Linked DNA regions of Homo sapiens: all the other regions are linked to region 6. Evidence: promoter capture Hi-C in 16 types of primary human blood cells and fetal thymus (Javierre and others, 2016). All regions are on one chromosome and are shown on one strand. Each heading gives the region's core, a stretch centred on a gene start or on the middle of the fragment in contact. The rest is flanking DNA. Distances are from core to core; before and after follow the strand shown. Region 1 overlaps FGGY (FGGY carbohydrate kinase domain containing). Region 2 overlaps FGGY (FGGY carbohydrate kinase domain containing). Region 3 overlaps FGGY (FGGY carbohydrate kinase domain containing). Region 4 overlaps FGGY (FGGY carbohydrate kinase domain containing). Region 5 overlaps FGGY (FGGY carbohydrate kinase domain containing). Region 6 holds the start of MYSM1 (Myb like, SWIRM and MPN domains 1). Region 7 overlaps FGGY (FGGY carbohydrate kinase domain containing).

Region 1 (2,971 bases), core at 224-2,723, 990 kb after region 6:
CTCCCTCCCCAACCCCTCCCTGACACCTGGGCCTAGAGGAGCCTGTGTGTTGGATAGAGTTGACGGCAGTGAAATTCCTACCAAGTTGGCCCTTTCAGTTTCACCTGTCAGTGTCTCTGATGAAGAGGGATCTTGACAAACCAGACTGGTTTGGATAATTGGACTACAGCAGTTGTCTTCATCTCAGTAAACTGACTAACCACTACAGAGGCTGGAGGAGAAATTTATAGAAAATCCTAAAATGGAAATTGAAGCAAGTGTTTCAATGACTAGGAAACAACAGGCTTTAGTGAGGTTCCAACATATTATAGTATGGTGGGGTGCTGGGACTCCTGTCTTCAAGGGGCCCCTAAAAGTGATAGAGGGGATTCATTTAGTATGCCCCAGCTGCCATTTAAGCACTTTGTGGTTATTGGCTCACTTAGTCCTCACAACGGTCCCATGAGATCCTGATATTAGTTGTACTTTGCACACAAGGAACCTGAATCACCAAGAGGCCACGCGCTTTCCCAAGCTTACATAGCTGGTAAAAGGTGAAGCTCAGATACAAACCCAGATTTTCTGACTCTGTGGTCTGTTCACTGTAAATACTGAAACCCATCTCTATAAAGCTCCTTTGGGAAACTCATCTTGGTGAGGCCCACCTCTACACGGCCCTACCCCCATGTGCCCATCTCTTGCACCGCCCTTAGATGTTGCCATGTTTGCTGATCTCACTCAAGTGTGAGCTTCCATATAAGGGTCCAAGTCTTACTGATCCTTAGCCAGTAGTCAGTGCTGGATACATGTATGCTGTACCAGACTGGAGGTGAAGTTTTACAGAGACTTTGTAATCTTCCTGAAGCTGGCTAAGAAGGCAGCCACCTGTGACTAGTTACACAGAAACCCAGCCACTTAAAGCAGTGGCACTGCTGGGGATGGACTTAGATTTAAAGTCGCTAGCAGGTAAAATCTGACCTATGTCTCCAGAAACAACTTTACTTGTGCACATTAGCTGTGACTGTAAACTGCTGCTTAACGGTTCTCACTTGCTCTAATTTTTCAAAGACTGACTCCCCAGTCATTAGAGTCTGTTCTGTTACTAGTAACTCAGTGGATGATCTGGAACAAGAGGTCTACCTCTTTGGGCCACAGTTTCCTCATCTTTAAACTGAAAGAATCAGATTCTGGTTTTCAAAAATGTAAAGCAGTGGAACCTTTGGGAGGCCAATACAGAAAACAGAAGGTGAACTGTGTCTCTGGCTTATCCATCACACCCTCTTTCCCCACTGCCTGGCAGCCTTGGAGGGTCTTTGCTGAACATAAGCACTGGACTAGATCTTTCCAAAGGAAATAACTGAAAATATTATAATGTTTAATAATGATACTTAATAATTCAATAATAAAGTAACTTCAAAATAGCCTAGCCTACCTTGAGAAAAGCAGGTTGGAGGGCCCTCACCATGGGGTCACTGTGCCTGTCTGTGTTACTGTCAAACATTGTGTGTTCCAGGCACGGAGGGGTGTCAGCTCAGCCTGATAATGTACAGTGGATTGGGGAAGCTAAAGCCTCTGGGCCTCATTCTCCTTGGCTGAAAACAGACTGCGTGTCATGGCACTGGTGAATTAGAAATTCTATCCAGCCACTCTTGGAGATTGATTTTCCGTCTGGGGATCTGACCTCTTGCTTCACTAGCAGAGGGGATCAGACTGTTCTGGGAGGAGTCAACGAGCTGGCCCTCAGAAAAGCCTTCTCTTTCTTTTTTGTTCTTTTTTTTTCTTTTCTTTTTTTTTTTTTTTTAACTGTATGTTTCAAAGGGAAAGTCTGATTACTTTGGGGACTTAACACTACCAGTTTGAATTCTTCTTGGTACTTACAGCCTTAAGATATCCATACACCCCCACATCCGTCCTTTGTGCTAGAAGATTACTGAAGATTTAATTCCATTTATGTCATTGGATTTGTAAAAAACCCCTTTTGGATTCAAAGATGAAGGCCTCACTTACTTTATTTTTGTCATTTTCACAGACCCCTTATGTAAATGCCTCAAGAGTAAGAATCTTGCTCAAGTGATTTTTGTATCTCCAATGGCTAACAAGGAGCCTGACATAGAGTAGCTGCTTGGTAAATATGTGTTCATTCATTCAACAAATACCCCCAAGGTACAACGATAAGAAAAATAACTATAGTCCTAATACTGATCACCTCTGCAGTTGACTGGAAGAGACAGTTAAAAAGATAAGTACAAATAAATGTATCTTGGGTTAAGTGCTATAAAGGAAAAGAACAGGTTCAATGGAAGGAAAAATTAGAATTGTTGATACATGAATGGAAGTAAATGACCCGGACTTCCAACTCTAAATCTCTGTCTCATTTCACCTCTTTGTAAATAATCATTGCTATTATGTTAAATATCACAACTACTGTCATTTCTTGTTTACCCACTACATTCTAAGCTTGGTGCTGACATCTTTGTATTTATTATATAAAATTCTCAAAATTACTCTGCCCGTTAGGCTTTCTTATCACTTATTCCAAATGCAAAAATAAGGTCCAGGGAAGATAATTATGTAACTTGTTCATGATTGGAGAGCTAATAAGTGTCAGAGATGAATTGAACCAAAGTTGGTGTGACAAAGCCTCTGTTTTAAGCAAAAGGGAAAAAAAATTCTCATTAACTCCAAGGATTATCATCAGGAGTCCAACAGGGTTCCCAATTTGGGAACTACTATATCATTATCATATGGCAAATGGTCCACTATGTTAGATGAGAGGACAAAAAAAAAAAAAAAAGTTGGGGGAGAAACTTTGCTGTAGAGTGGGAGGGAAAAAGAGGAAGATAGTCTTCTTGCATGGGCCGTCTTATCAGCCTAGCAATAATAAACTATCACCATAGCAACAGGAAGTCTAATTGATGGCAGATGTTGAGCCACTTTAAAAGCCACGCCAACTGAATGCCAAGCTGATGCTGTAAACCTCTCTCCTCTCCCG
Region 2 (3,257 bases), core at 229-2,728, 790 kb after region 6:
AAAAAGGGAGGGAATTATGACACATACTATAGCATGGATGAATCTTGAAGATACTATGTTAAATGAAATAAGGCAGTCACAAAAGGACCAATACTGTATGATCCTTCTTATATGGGATACATAGAGTAGTCAGATTCATAGAGATAGAAAGTAGAATGATAGTTACCAGGGATTTGGGGGAAGGGGGAAAGGAGAAGTTAGTGTTTAATGGATATAGAGTTTCAGTTTTGCAAGATGAAAAATGTTCTAGAAATGGGTGGTTGTAATGATTTCATGATGTGTGAATGTACTTAATACAACTGAATTGTATGCATAAAAACAGTTAAGATAGTAAATGTTATCTTACATATATTTTACCACAATTAAAAAATTTTTAAAAACAATGAAAAATAATTCCACTTTACATTTATTTTATTCTCTTCTTGGGGGAGATAGAGACTAATTAATGTATTCAATGTGTTGCTTAAAATTAAATCTATTATTTCTTAGTTTACAGCTAAGATGAGCCTTTTTAGGGCTAAATCACTTGCCCTGGTCACAGATCTAGTCATTGGCAGCCTAGGGTTTGATTCAGTTCTGGGAGGAAGGCAGGGTTTGTATCTGCTGTGATACATAGATCAGTTCGATTCATTCTTTCATTAGCCAGCATTAGAACACCTTTTTCATTCCAGCACTCTTGAAGGTAGCAGTAAGCAAGACAGTAAGGTTACATCACATTACCATGTGAGATGGAGAAACCAGACAGTAAGCAAGTATATACATAAACAAGACAAATGCAAATGTGGCTAATTGTTATGATGGAAATAAAGTGCTGGCTGAAATGTGGGTAGGGAAGGCTTCTCTAAGGAGGAGACTTCAGAGTTGTGACATCAATGTGGAGATGGCCTAATCAGTGTGAACATGTGGGCAGGAGTGTTCCTGGCAGAAGCAACAGCAGGAGCAGAGGCCCAGGGCTGGGAATAAGGTTGGCATGTTTGAGAAGATAGAAAAGACCAGTTTAGCAGAATGTACTGAGGAAGGGGAAGGACAAGTGATGGGGTAAGAGGTGTAAAAAATGCAGAACCTTGTGAGCCTTGGAGTAAAGCAGCCAAAGCTTTCCTAGGTATACAGAAAGCCACTAGAGGGGTTTCAAAGGGAAATGATGATTTTACTTTTTAACATTCTGTTGGCTTTCACTTTGTATCTACTGTATAGCAGATGGTAGGTTGTAGATACCAGAAATGCAATATGTAATACTGTTGCCCACAAGGAAATTATGGTCTGGTGAGGAAGAAAGAGCAGAGAGTGCCAGAAAAATATAGCAGCATATTCCACAGTGTACACTTTGGGGTACTAGAGGTGATTTTTAGGAAACAAAAATTCTTTATAGTAGAACAATTTATATTCCTTTGGGTATATACCTACTAATGGGATTGCTGGGTAAAATGGTTCTTTGAGAAAGAAGTTCTCTAAGTTCTTTGAGAAATCACCAAAGTGCTTTCCACAATGGCTGAATGAATTTACATTCACACCACTAGTGTATAGGCATTCCCTTTTCTCCACAACCTCACCAGTATCTGTTATCTTCTGACTTTTTAATGATAGCCATTCTGACTGATGTGAGATGGTATCTCATTGTGATTTTGATTTTGATTTCTCTAATGATTAACACTTTTTCATATGTTTGTTGGTTGTATGTCTTCTTTTGAAAAGTGTTCATGTTATTTCCCCATTTTTTAATGGGGTTATTTTTCGCTTGTTAATTTGCTTAAATTCCTTAAATATTCTGGGTATTAATCCTTTGTTGGATGCATAGTTTGCAAATATTTTCTCCTATTCTGTAGGTTGACTGTTTACTCTATTGATAGTTTCTTTTGCTGTGTGGAAGCTTTTTAGTTTAATTAGGCCCCATTTGTCAATTTTTGCTTTTGTTGCAATTGCTTTTGACATCTTCATCGTGAAATCTTAGCCAGAGCCTATGTCTAGAATGGTATTTCCTAGGTTTTCTTCTAGGGTTTTTATAGTTTTAGGTTTTATATCTAAGTCTTTAATCTATCTTGAATTGATTTTTATATATGGAGTATTGATTTTATATATGATTTTTATATATGGTATACAATTAGGTATATAATACCTAATTGTATTTCCTAGGTTTTCTTCTAGGGTTTTTATAGTTTTAGGTTTTACATCTAAGTCTTTAATCTATCTTGAATTGATTTTTATATGTGGTATAAGGAAGGGGTCCAGTTTCAATCTTCTGCATATGGCTAGTTATCCCAGCACCATTTATTGAATTGGGGGGAGGGGTCTTTCCTTATTGCTTGTTTGTGTCAACTTTGTTGAAGATCAGATTGTTGTAGGTGTGTGGCTTTATTTCTGTGCTCTCTATTCTTTTCCATGGATCTATGTGTCTGTTATTGTACTAGTGTCATACTGTTTTAGTTACTGTAGCCTTGGAATATAGTTTGAAGTCAGGTAATGTGGTGCCTCCAGCTTTGTTCTTTGTGCTTAGGATTGCTTTGTCTATTCGGGCTCTTTTTTGGTTCCATATGAATTTTAGAATAGTTTTTTCTAGTTCTGTGAAAAATGTCATTGGCAGTTTGATGGGAATAGCATTGAATCTGTAAATTACTTTGGGCAGTATGGCCATTTTAATAATATTGATTCCTCCTTTCCATGAGCATGGAATGTTTTTCCATTTATTTGTGTCATCTCTGATTTCTTTCAGCAGTGTTTTGTAATTCTCGTTGTAGAGATCTTTCACCTCTCTGGTTAGCTGTATTCCTAGATATTTTTATTTTTTGTGTCACTATTCAAAATAGCAAAGACATGAAATCAACCTAGATGCCCATCAACAGTGGACCGGATAAAGAAAATATGGCACATGTATACCCTGGAATACTACACAGCCATTAAAAAGAATAAGATTTTGTCCTCTGCAGCAACATGAATGGAGCTGGAGGCCATTATCCTAAGCAAACTAATGCAGGAACAGAAAACCACATACTGCATATTCTCACTGGTAAGTGGGAGCTAAACACCAAGTACATATGAACACAAAGGAGAGAACAGTAGACACTGGGGCCTACTTAAGGGTAGAGGTTGGGAAGAGGGTGAGGATCGAAAAACTACCTGTAGAGTGCTATGCTTATCAGCTGGGTGATGAAATAATCTGCACACCAAACTAATGTGACACGCAGTTTACCTGTGTAACAAGCCTGCACATGTACCCCTGAGCCTAAAATAAAAGTTAAAAAAAAATAAAATAGATGAACAAA
Region 3 (3,239 bases), core at 519-3,018, 850 kb after region 6:
TCAAGGCATCTTTGCCCAAGGGGATGAAAGAGGGATTCAAGTCTAACTCTGAAGAAGTAGATAAACAACAAAAACAGCAATAACAATAATAAAAGTAATAAAAACAGCAAAGGTTCATATAGTACTAGGCATGTTTTAACCTGTACCGTTCAATATAATATCCACTAGCTATATGTTGCTACTTAAATGTGAATTAATTAGGATAGAATAAAAAATTCAGTCCTCAGTTGTACTAGCCACATTTTCAGGGCTCAATTGCCACATGTGTCTGGTATCTATTGTATCAGACAGTGCAAATATAGAACATTTCCATCATCACAGAATGCTCTTATTAGCACTGTTATGGGTACTTTACACCTATATTAACATATATAATTTTTATAATCTGTGAGGAGGATACTATTCATATTGTAGAGATGTGGAAATTGAGGCATAAGGAAGATAAGAAACATAAAGAAGATAAGAAATCACATGATGAATGAGTCCTTATTTTTAAGCACTGTGCCATAATACTAACTCAATATATTGTGTTCTGTTTAACATAAATGAATGTTAGTCAAAATAATGGACTTCAGTGTCTGCGTGTATGTAGTCTGGTGTTAAGTCTTCTGCAGAGAACACGTCTTTGATATGATTCTTATCCTTCCAGAAGCATACAGTTGTCAATTTGCATGTATAAAGCTGGTGGTCACTAGAGAGTCTTCTCTGGAGCCCTTCCTCTCCAGGAACTCCAGAAACCTCCCAGCCAGCTTTGGCAAGAAACTCACTGGATGGGATTCATCAGTCAGTTCATTCATCCAAATGACTGAATCAAGAGTCTCAAACAGATGTAGTCTTAAATAATGTTCAAAACCCTTCTTATCCTTTTTGATACTTCAGAGAAGGTGCCTGAGGTTATTAAAAGAGAATCTTTTTCAAGATGCCAACACATCAGACTCAAAGACTGAAAATCCTAGTTGAGTCCAACTTCTACCTCTAAGTTACTAAATAAACTCGACTAAATTACTTCACCTTTCTGAAATTCAATTTCTTCAACTGTGAACTGGAAATAAAATACACATATCACAGGATTTTCTAAGGACTAATTGAAGGTTACAGTGTTTGAGGATACTTTGCAAGCTATAAAGTACTTTATATGGCTATAAAGTGGGAGATAATTATAACACAAATGCGAGAACTCAGGATGTTTTTCTTCTATATAACCTTGTAAGCTTTCAAAACTGCCACAGCGTGATAAATTATAGGAAAATGTACTCTTAATCATAACATTTGCAAAGTCTCTTTTTTATTTTACATAAATATAGTAGGGACTCAATGCTTGGGTGGAAGTATTGTTGGTTGGATGAATGGGAGAGATGAAGGGAGACAGCATATTAAATAAGAGAGCTGTTCATGAAGTTTTAAATGTTCCTTTTTTAACATTCTTTTTAAACATTGCTTGATATGAACTATGTGTGTTACATGGAGGGTTGGGAGACATTTAATTCATTGAGTTAGCCTGTTTTTCTGCTATTTGTTTTTTAGTTCAACAAACATTTATTGAGCAACTGCCATCAGTTGGGCATTGTGCAAGTTTCAGGGAAAACACAGTTGATGATGTCACTGTTTTTTTATGCCTGTTTCTTCATCTGCTAATTTTTCTCCTTAAACATTTTGAGGATTGCAGAATAAACTGACACTGGTATGGTCATATGAAGGGCCCCAGCGGTACCGAGGGCTGCACTTGTGTCAAATTGTTTCCTGATGTACACATGCAGCCTGTGAGTTCTCTGTGGATGGCAAAATATGTTTCTCCGGAAAGAAGAAAGCTCCTCCCACCTTTTCTTGCTTTTCCCTGCTTATCTCTGAACCTCTTTTCTCGGGGATAGCCCATCAAAGCACTGTGTGGCCAAAGGAAAAATAAGATGTCAGCTCTCCGACTCATGTGGTCTTGCAGTGAACATCAGCTATGCATGGCTGCTGAATTGGGGTGGACATTAGGCAGAGTGTAGAGAACCTCTTGAGGGGAAATGAGGCCAGTCCTGCCCAATATATATAATTTTAGGTAAGGAGATACCTCAGCTTGTATTTTAGGAGAAGCACTGTGTATATACTGAGAATGGCTGAGGAAGGACCTCCATTTGTAATTCATTTCTCTCATTGTGGGGATGAGAGAACCAGTTCAAACTTTTAGGCCATTTGTGGCAGAATTGGGGCTGAAACTCTTGTTTTTCTAACTCTTAGCCCATGGCTCTCACTGAGTTTCATGGTGAACTAGCACTTCCAAGTATGTTTTCATTATGTAAGACAATTATAACATCATAAAGTGAGGAGTATAGAAAGAACATAAGCTTTGGAGTCAGACAGAACAAGGTCAAATCCTGGCACTGCTTCTTAAATCCATGTGGCCTTGGGCAAGTTACCTGAACACTCTGCTCTGTTCTTCTACTTCTGCATCTATTAAGAGGAAGAAAGAATGTTTACCTTTTATGGATGTTGCAAAGATTAAATGAGAGAACATTCAAGGAGCTCAGCACAGTACCCAGCCTATCTTTGATGTTGATATGTTTACTAGAAAGGAAGAATCCAGTTGTCTCTTGAGAGGGGGTTCAGATGATGATGATGGTGATGATGGTGGTGGTGGAGAGAGTGATGGTAGTGATGATGGTGACAGAGCTACCATTAAACATCTCTTTTTAAGCATTTCTGCAATATCACAACAACCATGTGATGTTGTGATTTTCCTCATTTTATAGCAGATCCTTCTGTCTCCAAATTCCATCCTTTTCTCATAATAGCACACTAGTTCTCAGGTTCTAAGTCTAGATATAGCAGCAGTGAATCTGCCAACCCAAGAAGAAACAAATAAATATTTCCTACACATTTCTTTTTCCTTCATTTTAATTCCCTTTTCGTATTGACTGACCCTGTAACATTAACTTTGCCTGTACTTTATGTTTATGCAACCAGTAAATGTGGGTGATTCTCAGGAATTCCTTGAACCTATTTATGATACTGTGGAGCAGCGTGGCCAACTCCTTTTCTGTCAAGGATCTCAGAATCAATATATTTAAGATCCCAAGATTTTGAGATGTACAGATAAGTGAACATTGGTTGCCTGGCTATTGGATTTTTATCTTAGAGAAAAACCTGTGAGTCTTGGTGGGGAAGAACCAGCACTTTGGAATCAGATTACCTGAATGTGAATCACAGCCCAGTTCCTTGTGAGCTGCATGACCCTGGTGAAGTTACTACTCATT
Region 4 (3,117 bases), core at 194-2,693, 870 kb after region 6:
AGGGATATATGAGAATCTGTAATTTTAACATGTGCCCAGGTGATTCTAATGGAAAACTTTCAAAAAAACTGCTTTAAGCTCTTTCAGAGTAGCAATTATATCTTTACTTCATTGTTTCCGTAGTGCCTAGCAGAGCACCTTGTACATAGACAGTACTCTAAATTTACACTTGATGAATATAAGAGTGAAGTAAATAAATGTAAAATTAATGTAAAATGAAGGAAAACAAGTTTGAGAATCAGTCAGTTCCTGCCAGATTTGGAGCACACTGAGGAATCCCTTTATCTCCATCCTTTCAAATAAAATATCTCTTGGTAGGTCTGGGTAAGACATACTGAGAAGTCATGACTTGGACAAAGTACCTGGTAGAATCTGCCAACAATTAGAGATTGTGGAATTCTTATTTTCTCATGGAAAGCAGGATGGAGTGAAACAGTGAGAGATCCTGTTTGTAGTTCTGTGCAGACAAACCCAGAAACCAGAACGCAGACACACCAGGACGCAACAGGAAACCACAAAGGCCTGAGATCTTTCAATGTAAATAGGAAGTCAGAGTTTACTTCCGAACCCACAGTGCCAAGCTGAAGTGCAGTGTTTAATCCAGCTCTCTACCCAGCCCTTCCTTGAGCCTGGGCACAGATGAAAGATGATGATGCCACCTGGGTAAAAGCATTCAAAAATGTTTGTTCTGATCAGGTCTTGGAGTGAGCTTCTTTTGTTTGTGCTAGTGAATAATTTGGGACACAGGTGCACTTTGCATTTGAAAGCGTTAATTGGTCTCCTTGGTTTTCCCTGCCATGATATTTGAAGCCACATCTTCCTCCACAAAGTAATTTTAATCCATATACATTCAAAAAGCACTTGTCATGGACAGCCGTCTTTCATATACCCCATCTGTGGACCCCTGGGTCCAGGTGCAGAGTAGTGGAACATTGGTGATGCTTAATATGTACTCTGTGTTCATTGCATTGACATCTGTAATCTCATTTGATTACTACTATTACACTGGGAAATAATTAATAGGATACGATCATCACCATTTTGAAATAAGGAAAATGTAGTCTGGTAGAAAACACATGGATGTTAAAGTTAGGCAGATCTGTGTTCATGTCCAAAAGACTTAAGCTTTCTTACCAGACTGCTTTATTTTATGTAGCCAGTTGTTTAGAGCATTCACTCTGTGCCAGGTACTGGAGAGAAAATGGTGAGCAGTAGACCTAGACTGTACAGTGTAGTGGAGGAGATGAATACTCAGCAAACAATTACAAAAATGTATAATTACAGACCTTGATAAGTGCTTTGCTTTCATACCCTGCTGGGGGAAGTATAAATTGGGCAGTCACTTTGGAAAACAGTGAGGCATTGTCTGATCAATTTGACTGTGCACATGCCCTGTACTCTACCAATTCCATTCCTAGGTAGGAAGCTGGAGAAACAATTGTACTTGTGTACCAGTAAGTGCCCAGAGACAAGTAAGTACAAGAGTATTCATAGCATTATTTTTTATAATAGCTACAAATTTGAATCAACTCAAATTTCATCAATAATAGCATGAATAACTAAGTTGTATTATATTCATACAGTGGTAGACATACTTAAAATGTAGGAACTACAGCTACATATGACAACATAGATGGATCAAACAATTTTAAGTGGAAGAAACAAGACATGAAAGAGATACATACAGAATTATTTCATTCATAGAAAATTCAAAAAGAAGCAAAAAAGACAATGTCTTTTAAAAAATGCCTACAAAAGCACTAAGCTTAGAAAAGACAAGCAAGGGAATAATTACCACAAATATCAGGACACTGGTGAATTAGATGGCTTGGAATTGCAGGTTGTTGAGGTTAAAAGATGCTTTCAGGAAGAGCTTGAGGGAACTAGCATTTGCTTCTGAAGGATACATGAGTACTTAACAGTTTTTTTAATGTTCACATAAGTTTTATACACTCCTCTGTATGTATGATATGTAAGTGCTAGAAAGCAGAGAAGCTATCAGAACATAGAGCCAAGTGCCATATAATTTGGGTGGTCTAGAAGGCAAGGCAGTGATGTTTGAGCTGGGAGATTTTGATTAGGTAACTAAGCAGAGAGCCTGACGGGGAGGGAGTAGGGTTGTGCATGGCAGTGGTCAAGAGAAAAAATTTGTTCAGAAAGAGAGTACAGAAGAATAAGCAGAAGGAAATTGGCAGCTTTGGTGTGGGGCAAGAGAGAAGAATGCTACAAGTAAAGGCTGGAGAAGCAAAAAGGGGTAGCATATGCTGGGCTTGTAAGCCTTCTGAGGGATTTTAGTCTTTTATGTAAGAGAAACTGAAAGGTTTTAAGCACAGTGGATAAGATAATTGAATTACAAAGGATGGAAATAATTCCAGTTTGGAGAACAAATTGGCAAGAGACCTGAGTGGTACTAGGATACTAGGAAACCAGAAGAAGACTGGGAGTCTGTGTGAGAGATGATATCATACTAACTTGTCTCAGATTATGGTGGGGGAGATGAGATGTCGATATATTGGAAAGATGTTTAGAAGATAAAATCAGCAGCACTTCCTTGGTGTGAAAACTGTTGAGGCTGCAGGGCAAACACAATAGAGGCTTATTAGGTATCTCACCCAAACTCCTAAGATGAGCTGCTCCCCAGTGAGTAGAGATATCTGGAGAGAGAGCAGTAGTCGTTCAGGCATTCCTTGGACAGACTGGATTCACTAGAGAGAAACATTTTTGGTTTGCACTGTCAGCTTTGTTTTTAGGTTGTTTTAAATATTTTACCCTTGTCTCTTATGAAAGGTCTTCTCAAGAAGTAGCCATGTGGACACGATATTGCTTTGGTAGTAATTCTGCCAAAAATGCCTGACTTGAATCTGATCATGAGGAAATATCAGAAACCCAAATTGAGGGAGATTCTATAAAATAACTTGCCTCTAGTCTTCAAAAATGCCAAGGTCATAAAAGAAAAACTACAGGAAGATCAAAGGAGACGAAAGAGACATGATATCTGAAGGACATGTGTGATGCTGAATTGAATTGGAGAAACTTTTTTAAAAGTTTTATTGTAAAGGACATTTAGTGGATAATAGATGACATTCTAATAAGATCAGTAGATTAGATAATAGAATT
Region 5 (3,046 bases), core at 74-2,573, 970 kb after region 6:
CCCATCTTACAGACAAGCAAGTTGATGGGTGGGTAGGTGAATTAAATTGGCTATCTAAAGTCAAACAGCCAGTATGGGGCAGGACCAATATTGTAACTGTGGTGTGTCGGGGCCCACCGTCCCTTTGTACTGTACTGCTGACCCAGGTTTCTTGACTTTTCTGCCAAGTTTGTAACCAGTTGATGATGACGCCACTTTCCTGAGATGTCCAAAACCCTATAGAAGTGGGCCGTTCAAAGCAGAAGGAGGAAAGACATAAAAAGAGCCCAGATTGCCTTATAATTGTCCTCAGGAGAAAAACCATAACATTTTATCTAAAAATCAGCTGGCTAGTTCAGATAACATTCAAGCTTAAAATTTGATCTGTGACATTCCAATTTCTAGACTTCTTTTTTTTTTTTTTTTTTTTTTTTTGTATTTTTTGGTAGAGACAGGGTTTCACCATGTTGGCCAGGCTGGTCTTGAACTCCTGACCTCAAGTGATCCACCCGCCTTGGCCTCCCAAAGTTCTGGGATTACAGGCATGAGCCACCGCACCCGGCCCCAATTTCCAGCCTTCTGATAGCCAAAAAACTTCCTATCTGGATGCAAGAGGAAAGATGAAAGTCAGCTTTGGAGAACACAGTACTCTAGAAAATGGGAAACAGGGCCTCCCAGAGCAGAACAGCTAGCTGTGAGTGACCCCGGCACTGACTCCGCGCTGCAGCCCTGGACTTTGTGAAAATGGGTCATCTTCCAGGCCCTACATCCCTGGGCTGACTCAGAAGCACGGCGGGGAGTGCAGCGGCTTCACAGAAAGTTCTGCTTTGGAAACTGTTCTCCTCTAGGCTGTTGAATGAAAAGGCTGTTAATCGTTATTTGGATTCCGATTGAAACTGGACCTTTTGTCTCTAACTATGGACCAGTTACAGTTCCAGACAAAGAGACCTTTTATTTAGCCTGGAATTCCTCTGCCTTTGGAAGCCTGTGACTGACAAGTGATGGCAAAGTGCATCTGCCTTTGAATGCTTTGGGTTCTGCTAAACTCATTAATGCATCAGATAAAATAGTTCACATTCCAGCCAAAGCTGCCCTCTTCCTCTCCTTCACCCAGGACTCAGAGAAAAGAACACATTTGCATTTGTCCCTGTAAAAGGCACGTACACAAGCAGCCAGTATAGAGGTAGTGTCATTGGTGCCTTTAAACATTGTATTGCTCTAGTTTTCCTACAAAGACAGTTAGGGAGGACTGTAGACCTGGAACATGATTCTCAGAAATGCATGTGAAAAACACATTCGAATTTGGGAGATTTTTTTGGAGATAGTGTGGAACAGTGGAAAAAGCAGATCAGCTCTGTGACTTTGGGCAAGTTACTTTACCTCTCTGAGCCTCAGTTCCCTCTTCTGAAACAAACAAACCAAAAAACATTATCATCTCCCTCATGTAGATCACTGCTGAGGAATAAATGCTTGCGAGTTTGTGAGCATCAAACTCTGTGCCTAGTCCAAGTAGGTGATCAGTAAATGTCAATTCTCTTATTCCATCTAGGAAGCCCCATGCCAAAAAGAAAGAGGGGCATTTGAGGGAAAAAAAAAAGCAGCTTATTATTTTGAAAGTGAATCTTTGCCATGTTGAGAACAGCCTGCTCTGTACAAGCAGGGAGAGCGGGGCCTTGCCAGCTTGGGAAATGCTGTCTACATGAGGAGGAAGAACCTCCTTGTACCCTGGTCATTTGGTTAACTGTGGTTTCAAGAAATACTTGGTATGTACTAAGTAATTGTTAAGTTTCCCCCACTGACTTGGGACTAAATGTTCCTTCTTCTAAGTTTTATTTTTTAGTACTGGTAGTTTCAGTAGGGGTTTCCCTCTTCTGGTCTTACTCATTATTTTAATTATTTGTTCTTTCATTTATTCACTCAAAAGCATTCTCTGTGCACACCAGTGTGCCAAGCCCTGAGGTTGGCACAGGGATGCTAAGAAGAACAGTAATGTCCAGCCAAGAGGTTCTTTATAAAACACAGAAAAAGTGCCCTTGGTCTTATGACCAATATCCAGAGTGAGTAGAGTGGGGACCCAGAGGACAAAATGTGTCGGTGTCAGTCAGGTCCAGGCAGGGAACAGATACACACTCCAGTTAGGTTAACCGGAGGGAAGTTGAATAGTCAGTGTACAGAGCTGTGGGCAGGGTGCTGGAAGCCCAGACAACCAAGAAGTACCTTGGGATACTAACAGTGTTTCCACCCCTGGGCTCACAAGGGTGAGGGTAGGGAGCAGGCAATCTGAGCCTGGTGGGATGTGTGAAGAGGGCAGCCCAGCAGAAGCTTAGCCAAGGATGAAACCAGAGGGCAGGGGCCCACAGCTGTGATCCCCACTGGCCAGTCTCCCAGGCTCAGAGTAGGTGGAGGGAGGAAGGGAAGAGGTGGGATTGGTCTTAGAGGCAAATGGAAGCAGTGGATTGATTTCACCCTGGGTAACAGGTGTGAGGAGAGACTTCAGAAGTAAGGTAAACTTTAAGAATAACAACTAATGCTAATTTAGTGCTTTCTCTAAGCCAAGCACCATTTTAAGAGCCTTATTATAATAGCAGTTTTAATTCTCACAGCAACTCTATGAGATAGGCGGAATTTTAACCCCATTTTTCAGATGAGAAAGCTGAGGCACGGAAAGATTAGGTATCTTGCCTAGGATCACACAGCTAAGTCAGTGGGGAAGCCAGGATTCAAACCCTGGCAGTCTGGGTTCAGAGCACTTTGGGCAGCAACTTGAGAGCTGATAGGGGATTCACCAGGTTCACTCACATCTCTGGTTCGCAAGGGGAGGGGCCTGTGAGTAGTTCCTCCCTGCTCACAACTCAGGGAGCTTTTGGCAGGGTAGGAAGGCCCGGGAAGTGAATGGTGTTTGGAGGCACTGTCTTCAAAAACGTCCCAGGTCCATAGAGAAGGCTTGATGGTCATAGTCGCACACCCATCTGTATCATTCCTAGGATTCTTCAACGGCTTGCAGTGCTCTCTCCTGCTGGTGTCAGCACAGCCCTGTAGTGTGGCCTGGCATCTGTCCTTCCCCTCT
Region 6 (3,278 bases), core at 191-2,690:
TCTTCAGTGTTTCCAAGGCCAGCTCATTTCTTTCTAGACTGCAGATAAGTATCCCTGCCAACCTATTTCATTAACTTGTTGCGAAAAGTAAATTAAATCAAACATGCAAAAGCACTTGGTCAAGATTTAAACACTAAATGAATGTCAACAAGTATTGTTATTAAGGGCTCCCTACTCATCTGCAAAGCTTTGAGGGACAATGACCATATGAGTTTAATCACCCCTCACGTCTTTATAGGGCTTTAGAGTTCATGATACACTTCTAAACACACTATCTTAGTGCCTCAAGCGCTGGGTTAGTACTTCTCCCCTGTTCACAGAGGCCCTAATATTAGGCTGAACTACATGAAGTTGCCGCTTTATAGAACAAAAATGGTCTAAATATTGGCAATTTCATATGGTTCAAGCTAATACAGTTCTAAGGAAATTGTACATAATTATAAACAACATAGCTGGCTGACTTTAGAACTCAGGCTTTCTGATTCCTGGCTAGTCTAGGACTCTTCATGACTAAAAGGAGACTCATTTTTGATTCAGAAAGCAAGGAGTCAAAGGAGGTTCTGTGTCAAATCACACTGGGCTGTTTGTTCTGCTGGAACAGGTATTTTAAAAAATGTGATCCCTTACTGGATTCTCACAGTACTGTCCCCGAGGGTAACAGGATGGTAAAGAATACATTCAGAGGGCACCTACCGTATGCTAAAGCATATCTCATAATCATTTCATTTGATCCTCCCAATTACATATCATGACTCCCAGTTTAAATATGAGCAGTCTGAGGCTCAGACAAGTTAAGTGTCTTGCCCAAGGTCACATTGCTATTAACTGGTAGGGCGAGCAAATGCAGAAGGAAAACCCAGAACTGTCCAACTCTAAAACCTGGCCCATTTAAGTCAACCTGCTTCTCGGGAAGTTTTACAACTATCCCCATGTGGAAGAAGGGATGAAACGACTCGCCCAAGGTCACACGGCTAGCAAGCCATAGAACAAGAGTCCCTGACCTCAGGTCTCGTCCGTAGCCGCTCTTGTTCTAGTTACTGTCGATGAGATCCTGAAAAGGAGGGAACGGAAGAAGGAATCTAAATGTAAATCAAACGCAATGTGGTAGGCGAAATCGGTGCCCTCACAGCATCCGGCAAAAGGTGAAAGCGACCCAGGAGTACCTGAGCTCCAGGTAACCGCCCTGCCCGCTGGGCTTGGGACAAGCCGGCGGGCGAGGTGCCTCCCAGGCCAACAAGAGACCCTGGCCCAGGGGACAGTCTTCTGTTCCCTTTTCCCTTGCCGGACCTGCAGCTTTCCCAGGGCCCGCTCCTTCAATCCACTCCCCTCTCCGCCCCAGAGAGACCCGGTCTCTAAGCCTCACCCTGGCTGTGCCCCCGCCGCCGCTACCACGTCCCCTTCGATATCCACATCCGCCTCTTCAGCCGCCATGATGGGACCTGACCCCGTCCGTCCTCCCGAGAGATCCCGCGAGACGAAGATGGCCCGGGGGCAGGGCCTAACGCGTCACGGGGCGGGATTGAAGCGTCGTCCGGCCCCTCCCGTGCCGGGAGGCGGGGTTTCCAGAGCAAAGGCGCCCCCAGAGGCCTGGGGCTTGGTCCTTTCTAACTTGTTGACATGTAGAGACCTTGGGAAGTGGCCCACGCCTGAGCTTTTTTTTTTTGAGAGGGAGTTTCACTCTTGTTGCCCAGGCTTGGGTGCAATGGCGCGTATCTCAGCTCACTGCAACCTCCACCTCCCGGGTTCAAGCGATTCTCCTGCCTCAGCCTCCCAAGTAGCTGGGATTACAGGCATGCGCCACCACGCCCGGCTAATTTTTGTATTTTTAGTAGATACAGGGTTTCACCATGTTGCCCAGCTGGTCTCGAACTCCCGACCTCCCGACCTCAGGTGATCCGCCCGCCTCGGCCTCCCAAAGCTCTGAGATTACAGGCGTGAGCCACCGCGCCCGGGCCCTCCTGAGCTTCTAAGAGCTTCTGTTCTTGCACACATTCTTTGGGACCTCACTGCTCTCACTGATAAAATGGGGATAACAGCAGTATCTTTCTGGACTGATGAAAAAGTCAAGCTAGACCCGCTTTGTGAACTGAAGGTTGCATACCTGCTGGTTATTTAAGTCTCTCTCTTTGTTTTTTAAAGAAAAGGGTCGTGCAGCACTTATGTGAAGTCGTTCAGCATTTCACCTAAGTGCTGAACAACTTTTATTTTAAAATTCAACAAATATTTAAGAATATAACTTATGATTGTGTAATTTATTTTGTAGACGTCTTTGCAATTTAAAAATCACGCTCATGACCATTAATCCTTACAGTGTCCCAGTGAGGTAGGCAGAGCTAATATCACCAGTTATACTTTACAGGTGAGGTAACTGAGGCCTGGAGAGCTGAAATGACTGTCCAAGGACAGGTAGCTTCAAAGACAGAGCCAGGAGTAGAATCCAGGCTTTGTTGACCCTCTACTGAGTGCTCACCATGTAACAATCATGTTGTTAGAAATTGGAGGATAAACACCACTTCTGTCTAGTTTATAGTTTCTCAAGAAATTAGATACTGACAGCCAGATGCGGTGGCTCACACCTGTAATCCCAGCACTTTGGGAGGCCAGGGAGGGCGGATCACAAGGTCAGGAGTTCGAGACCAGCCTGACCAACATGGTGAAACCCCGTTTCTACTAAAAATACAAAAATTAGCTGGGCGTAGTGGTGGGCAACTGTAGTCCCAGCTACTCAGGAGGCTGAGGCACAAGAATCGCTTGAACCCAGGAGGCAGAGGTTGCAGTGAGCCGAGATCACGCCATTGCATTCCAGCCTGGGTGACAGAGCGGGATTCCATCTCAAAAAAAAAGAAAAGAAAAAAAAACCCTTCTGCATTCCCCTGCCTTAGCAGCTATCACTCACACCTTGTAATTTTTCATCCGTCTGCCTTCTGCACTGGACTGTGAATTCCTTAAGGACAAAGACCACGTCTGCTAGTCCTTACACTACCAATATTCAGCATAGTGACACATAGCAGGTGCTCAATAACTATTGAACAGAGGAATGAATGAATTAATTAATTAATTAAATGACCTCACTTCTCACACTATTCCCAATTTGTCCCATCTCACCTTTGTTCTCAGGCTGCACTCTGAATATGATGGCAAAAGATGGAGAGAAAGAATTGCAAAGAGGGAGAGCCCAGTTCAGAAACCAAACACTGCTAGGGCCCATTCTCAGGCCACCATGGGAGTGCTGCTTCTGTTGTCAGTGGGCTTATCCAGTAACCAGTCCCACTGGTAAC
Region 7 (2,973 bases), core at 61-2,560, 940 kb after region 6:
CTTCTCTTGAAAATATTTGTAAAAATGCAAAAAAGTCATGAATTCATGCAGGCCTTAGGAATTAGGATGGTGTTCAACTAGGAAAACTAGAATTGGTATTCCCAATTATATGATGAATGCAACTTGTTTGATAACATCATATATGACATAAGAACAAAGTCATGTGTGATCCACTGTGGAAACAGTTTGGACCTCGCCACCTTCTGCTCCCTTGCATAAAAGCACAAGGTTCTTTTAAACCTGAAAACAGCATAGCTATTCCTCTACTTTACTGCTAATGGTTGGGTTTTTTGTTTTCTTTTTGGAAAGCAGCCAGTGAGTTTAAATTCCTAGATCCCCCCACAACCCTGTTCCCAGCCACTCTTTCAGTTCATTCCATTTGAAAACTGCCAGCTCAAGAATCCACCCAAGCAGGAAGTGTGAATTAGGAGGAAGGGTGATGGCTTGCATTCTAAGCATCTGTTAATGGGGCAGATGTAGGAAAGGCCTTAGTAGTTCTGTAAACTTGGGAGGAAGGGTGTAGTTTGCACTACTAGTTCTAGGCTCGGAAAGCCAGGCAGTGCTGATCTACCTCAGTCCAACAAAGCTACAGAAAATAAAAACTGCTGTACTCTGCCAACTGGCATTTAGCTGTAGATCTGAAGAGACAAATTTAAGTATACAGTGAGTGGGGATAAGAGCAAATCACGGCTGTGTGCGGTGGCTCACGCCTGTAATCCCAGCACTTTGGGAGGCCGAGCCAGTTGGATCATGAGGTCAGGGGTTCGAGACCAGCCTGACCAACATGGTGAAACCCCGTTTCTACTAAAAATACAAAAATTAGCTGGGCGTGGTGGTGGACGCCTGTAATCCCAGCTACTCAGGAGGCTGAGGCAGGAGAATTGCTTGAACCTGGTAGGCGGAGGTTGCAGTGAGCTGAGATTGTGCCACTGCACTCCAGCCTGGGTGACAAGAGCGAGACTCCGTCTCAAAAAAAAAAAAAAAAAAAGAGCAAATCATGTGTACTGTATGCTGGGAAATACTGAACATGTGTACCTGTCTAGTTAGCGTAAATGTTGAAAAATAATGGCCCCTTAGAAAAACCATTACATACGGCTGGACGCGGTGGCTCACACCTGTAATCCCAACACTTTGGGAGGCCGAAGCGGATGGATCACGAGGTCAGGAGATCGAGACCATCCTGGCTAACATGGTGAAACCCTGTCTCTACTTAAAAAAGTACAAAAAAATTAGCCGGGCATGGTGGCGGGTGGCTGTAGTCCCAGCTACTCGGGAGGCTGAGGCAGGAGAATGGCGAGAACCTGGGGGGTGGAGCTTGCAGTGAGCCAAGATCACGCCACTGCACTCTAGCCTGGGTGACAGAGTGAGACTCCATCTCAAAAAAAAAAAAAAAAAGAAAAACCATTACATACAAAGAAAAAAATACCATTGTGAACACTTAAAGGAAAGCCCTCTTGAAAATTATTTACTACTGAAACCAAAAGAAAATGTTAGAGAACTTTGTGGTATATTCAATGGAATATTTTTAATTTTTTTTTAAGAGACAGGATCTTGCTCTTTGTCACTCAGACTGGAATGCAGTGGTGCAGTGGCCTAATCAGAACCCACTGTAACCTTGAACTTCTGAGCTCAAGCAGTCCTTCCATCTCAGCCTCCCAAGTAGCTAAGACTACACAGGCACATGTCAGCATGCCCAGCTAATTTTTAAAATATTTTTTTGTAGAGATGGGGTCTCACTCTGTTGCCAAGGCTGGTCTCAAACTGCTGGCCTCAAGCCGTCTTCCCACTTCAGTCTCCCAAAGTGTTGAGATTATAGGCATGAAACACTGTTCCCAGCCAGAAATTTTGTTTCAAGGCATATCTCTATGAAATAGGCCAGAAACTTATTAGGAAAGAACAAGTTAAGATGAAAGGACAATGGAATGAGAAAAAGGGGGAAATGGCAAAGACCACAAGACAACTAAAAATGCAATCAAAGAATTAAAACCTACATTGAAAGCAATAGGGAGTATAATTTTCACTGAAGAAAATAAGATCAAGGCTGTCATAAGACATAACATATGTTTTAAATTTACTCTATAGGAAAAACATTTTGAGGATAGGAGCAATGGCTTATTTACTTTTTAAAATATCAACAGTTCTTAGGTCAGAAGCTGGCACCAAATAATTGCCTTATGGTCAAACAGTTATTTCAATCACTGTTTGCCAAATGAGGAATGAACAGTGACCTGCCCAAAGTCACAAAGCCAAGAAGTGGCAGCGCTTGCCTTTTAGGATGCAAACTCTGGACTTTGCAAAACGCATGGAGGACTATTAAGAAAGGGAGTTTAAACATGCATTATACATGGTTTCATAGTGAACCATGTTCCTTAAGCTAGTCCTTGGCTCTTCTGTTCTTCTGACCACCAACCTTGTGGCTTGTCCTCCCACTTTTACCCTAACCATGGTCTTTGGATTTAAACTCTGACCCTGTCTCTTCTCAGTAAGGTACTAGTTTCCTTCCCACCCTAACTGACTCAGATTTAAAAAAAAATAGCCACTCGTGGTTTGACCTGGTTCTAATGCCTTCCACACTAGGTGCCTACCTTGGTAAGTAGGAACAGGACATAACCCAGGAATCTCTTCCTTATGCTTGATAGTATCATTTTCTTTTTGTTCTGGTAACAGTTGACTCCTATCATGTGACTAGCTGTTTCATTTTTCTTTTGATGATACAATATCAGCCTGAAGCACTGGACTAAAGAGAGGTGGAGGAGGTGGGGGATGAGCAGCCTAATAGCATGGCTGGACTAGGTACCCCACTATGTAAACATTTCTCCTTTCCAGTTGATAAATGAAGCACAGAAAGGTGAGGGCTACACATACGATTATTTAAAAGAAGCAGAATCTTAAGTAATAACAGTCGGTCTCAAAACAGTAAGCGCTGATGATTTTAGGTTCATTAAAAACAAGACAGACACGCCCCCCCCCACC

The links. The method cuts DNA at HindIII sites, captures the fragments that hold promoters and counts their contacts. A CHiCAGO score of 5 or more calls a contact.
Region 1: a contact is called between a fragment that was not itself captured here and the fragment with the promoter of MYSM1 in region 6, in 17 of 17 cell types (total B cells, fetal thymus, naive B cells and 14 more). The highest score is 28.2, in total B cells.
Region 2: a fragment that was not itself captured here is called in contact with the fragment with the promoter of MYSM1 in region 6 in 1 of 17 cell types (total B cells); the score reaches 5.2 in total B cells.
Region 3: a contact is called between a fragment that was not itself captured here and the fragment with the promoter of MYSM1 in region 6, in 1 of 17 cell types (monocytes). The highest score is 6.8, in monocytes.
Region 4: a fragment that was not itself captured here is called in contact with the fragment with the promoter of MYSM1 in region 6 in 6 of 17 cell types (total B cells, naive B cells, total CD8 T cells and 3 more); the score reaches 8.7 in total B cells.
Region 5: a fragment that was not itself captured here is called in contact with the fragment with the promoter of MYSM1 in region 6 in 1 of 17 cell types (total B cells); the score reaches 5.7 in total B cells.
Region 7: a contact is called between a fragment that was not itself captured here and the fragment with the promoter of MYSM1 in region 6, in 1 of 17 cell types (naive B cells). The highest score is 6.6, in naive B cells.

Annotation. Positions count from the first base shown.
Region 1 is chr1:59,689,878-59,692,848 of GRCh38, forward strand. The region is part of intron 14 of FGGY (FGGY carbohydrate kinase domain containing); the gene reads left to right. Among named protein-coding and RNA genes, the nearest start is that of MIR4711, 42 kb to the right of the region's middle. The HindIII fragment of the contact is 1,922 bases long and covers 513-2,434 here.
Region 2 is chr1:59,493,456-59,496,712 of GRCh38, forward strand. The region is part of intron 6 of FGGY (FGGY carbohydrate kinase domain containing); the gene reads left to right. All of the region lies in intron 2 of LOC124904192 (a long non-coding RNA gene), which reads right to left. Among named protein-coding and RNA genes, the nearest start is that of FGGY, 200 kb to the left of the region's middle. The HindIII fragment of the contact is 774 bases long and covers 1,092-1,865 here.
Region 3 is chr1:59,548,494-59,551,732 of GRCh38, forward strand. All of the region lies in intron 7 of FGGY (FGGY carbohydrate kinase domain containing), which reads left to right. Among named protein-coding and RNA genes, the nearest start is that of MIR4711, 180 kb to the right of the region's middle. The HindIII fragment of the contact is 1,119 bases long and covers 1,210-2,328 here.
Region 4 is chr1:59,570,168-59,573,284 of GRCh38, forward strand. All of the region lies in intron 8 of FGGY (FGGY carbohydrate kinase domain containing), which reads left to right. Among named protein-coding and RNA genes, the nearest start is that of MIR4711, 160 kb to the right of the region's middle. The HindIII fragment of the contact is 640 bases long and covers 1,124-1,763 here.
Region 5 is chr1:59,669,152-59,672,197 of GRCh38, forward strand. All of the region lies in intron 13 of FGGY (FGGY carbohydrate kinase domain containing), which reads left to right. Among named protein-coding and RNA genes, the nearest start is that of MIR4711, 63 kb to the right of the region's middle. RefSeq lists an enhancer at 147-701. The HindIII fragment of the contact is 1,951 bases long and covers 349-2,299 here.
Region 6 is chr1:58,698,622-58,701,899 of GRCh38, forward strand. MYSM1 (Myb like, SWIRM and MPN domains 1) reads right to left here and starts at 1,441. Exons shown (of 20, transcript NM_001085487.3): 1 at 1,364-1,441. The coding sequence starts at 1,431. RefSeq lists enhancers at 936-995, 1,206-1,615. The HindIII fragment of the contact is 3,791 bases long and covers 186-3,278 here.
Region 7 is chr1:59,641,657-59,644,629 of GRCh38, forward strand. The region is part of intron 11 of FGGY (FGGY carbohydrate kinase domain containing); the gene reads left to right. Among named protein-coding and RNA genes, the nearest start is that of MIR4711, 90 kb to the right of the region's middle. The HindIII fragment of the contact is 6,550 bases long and covers 1-2,973 here.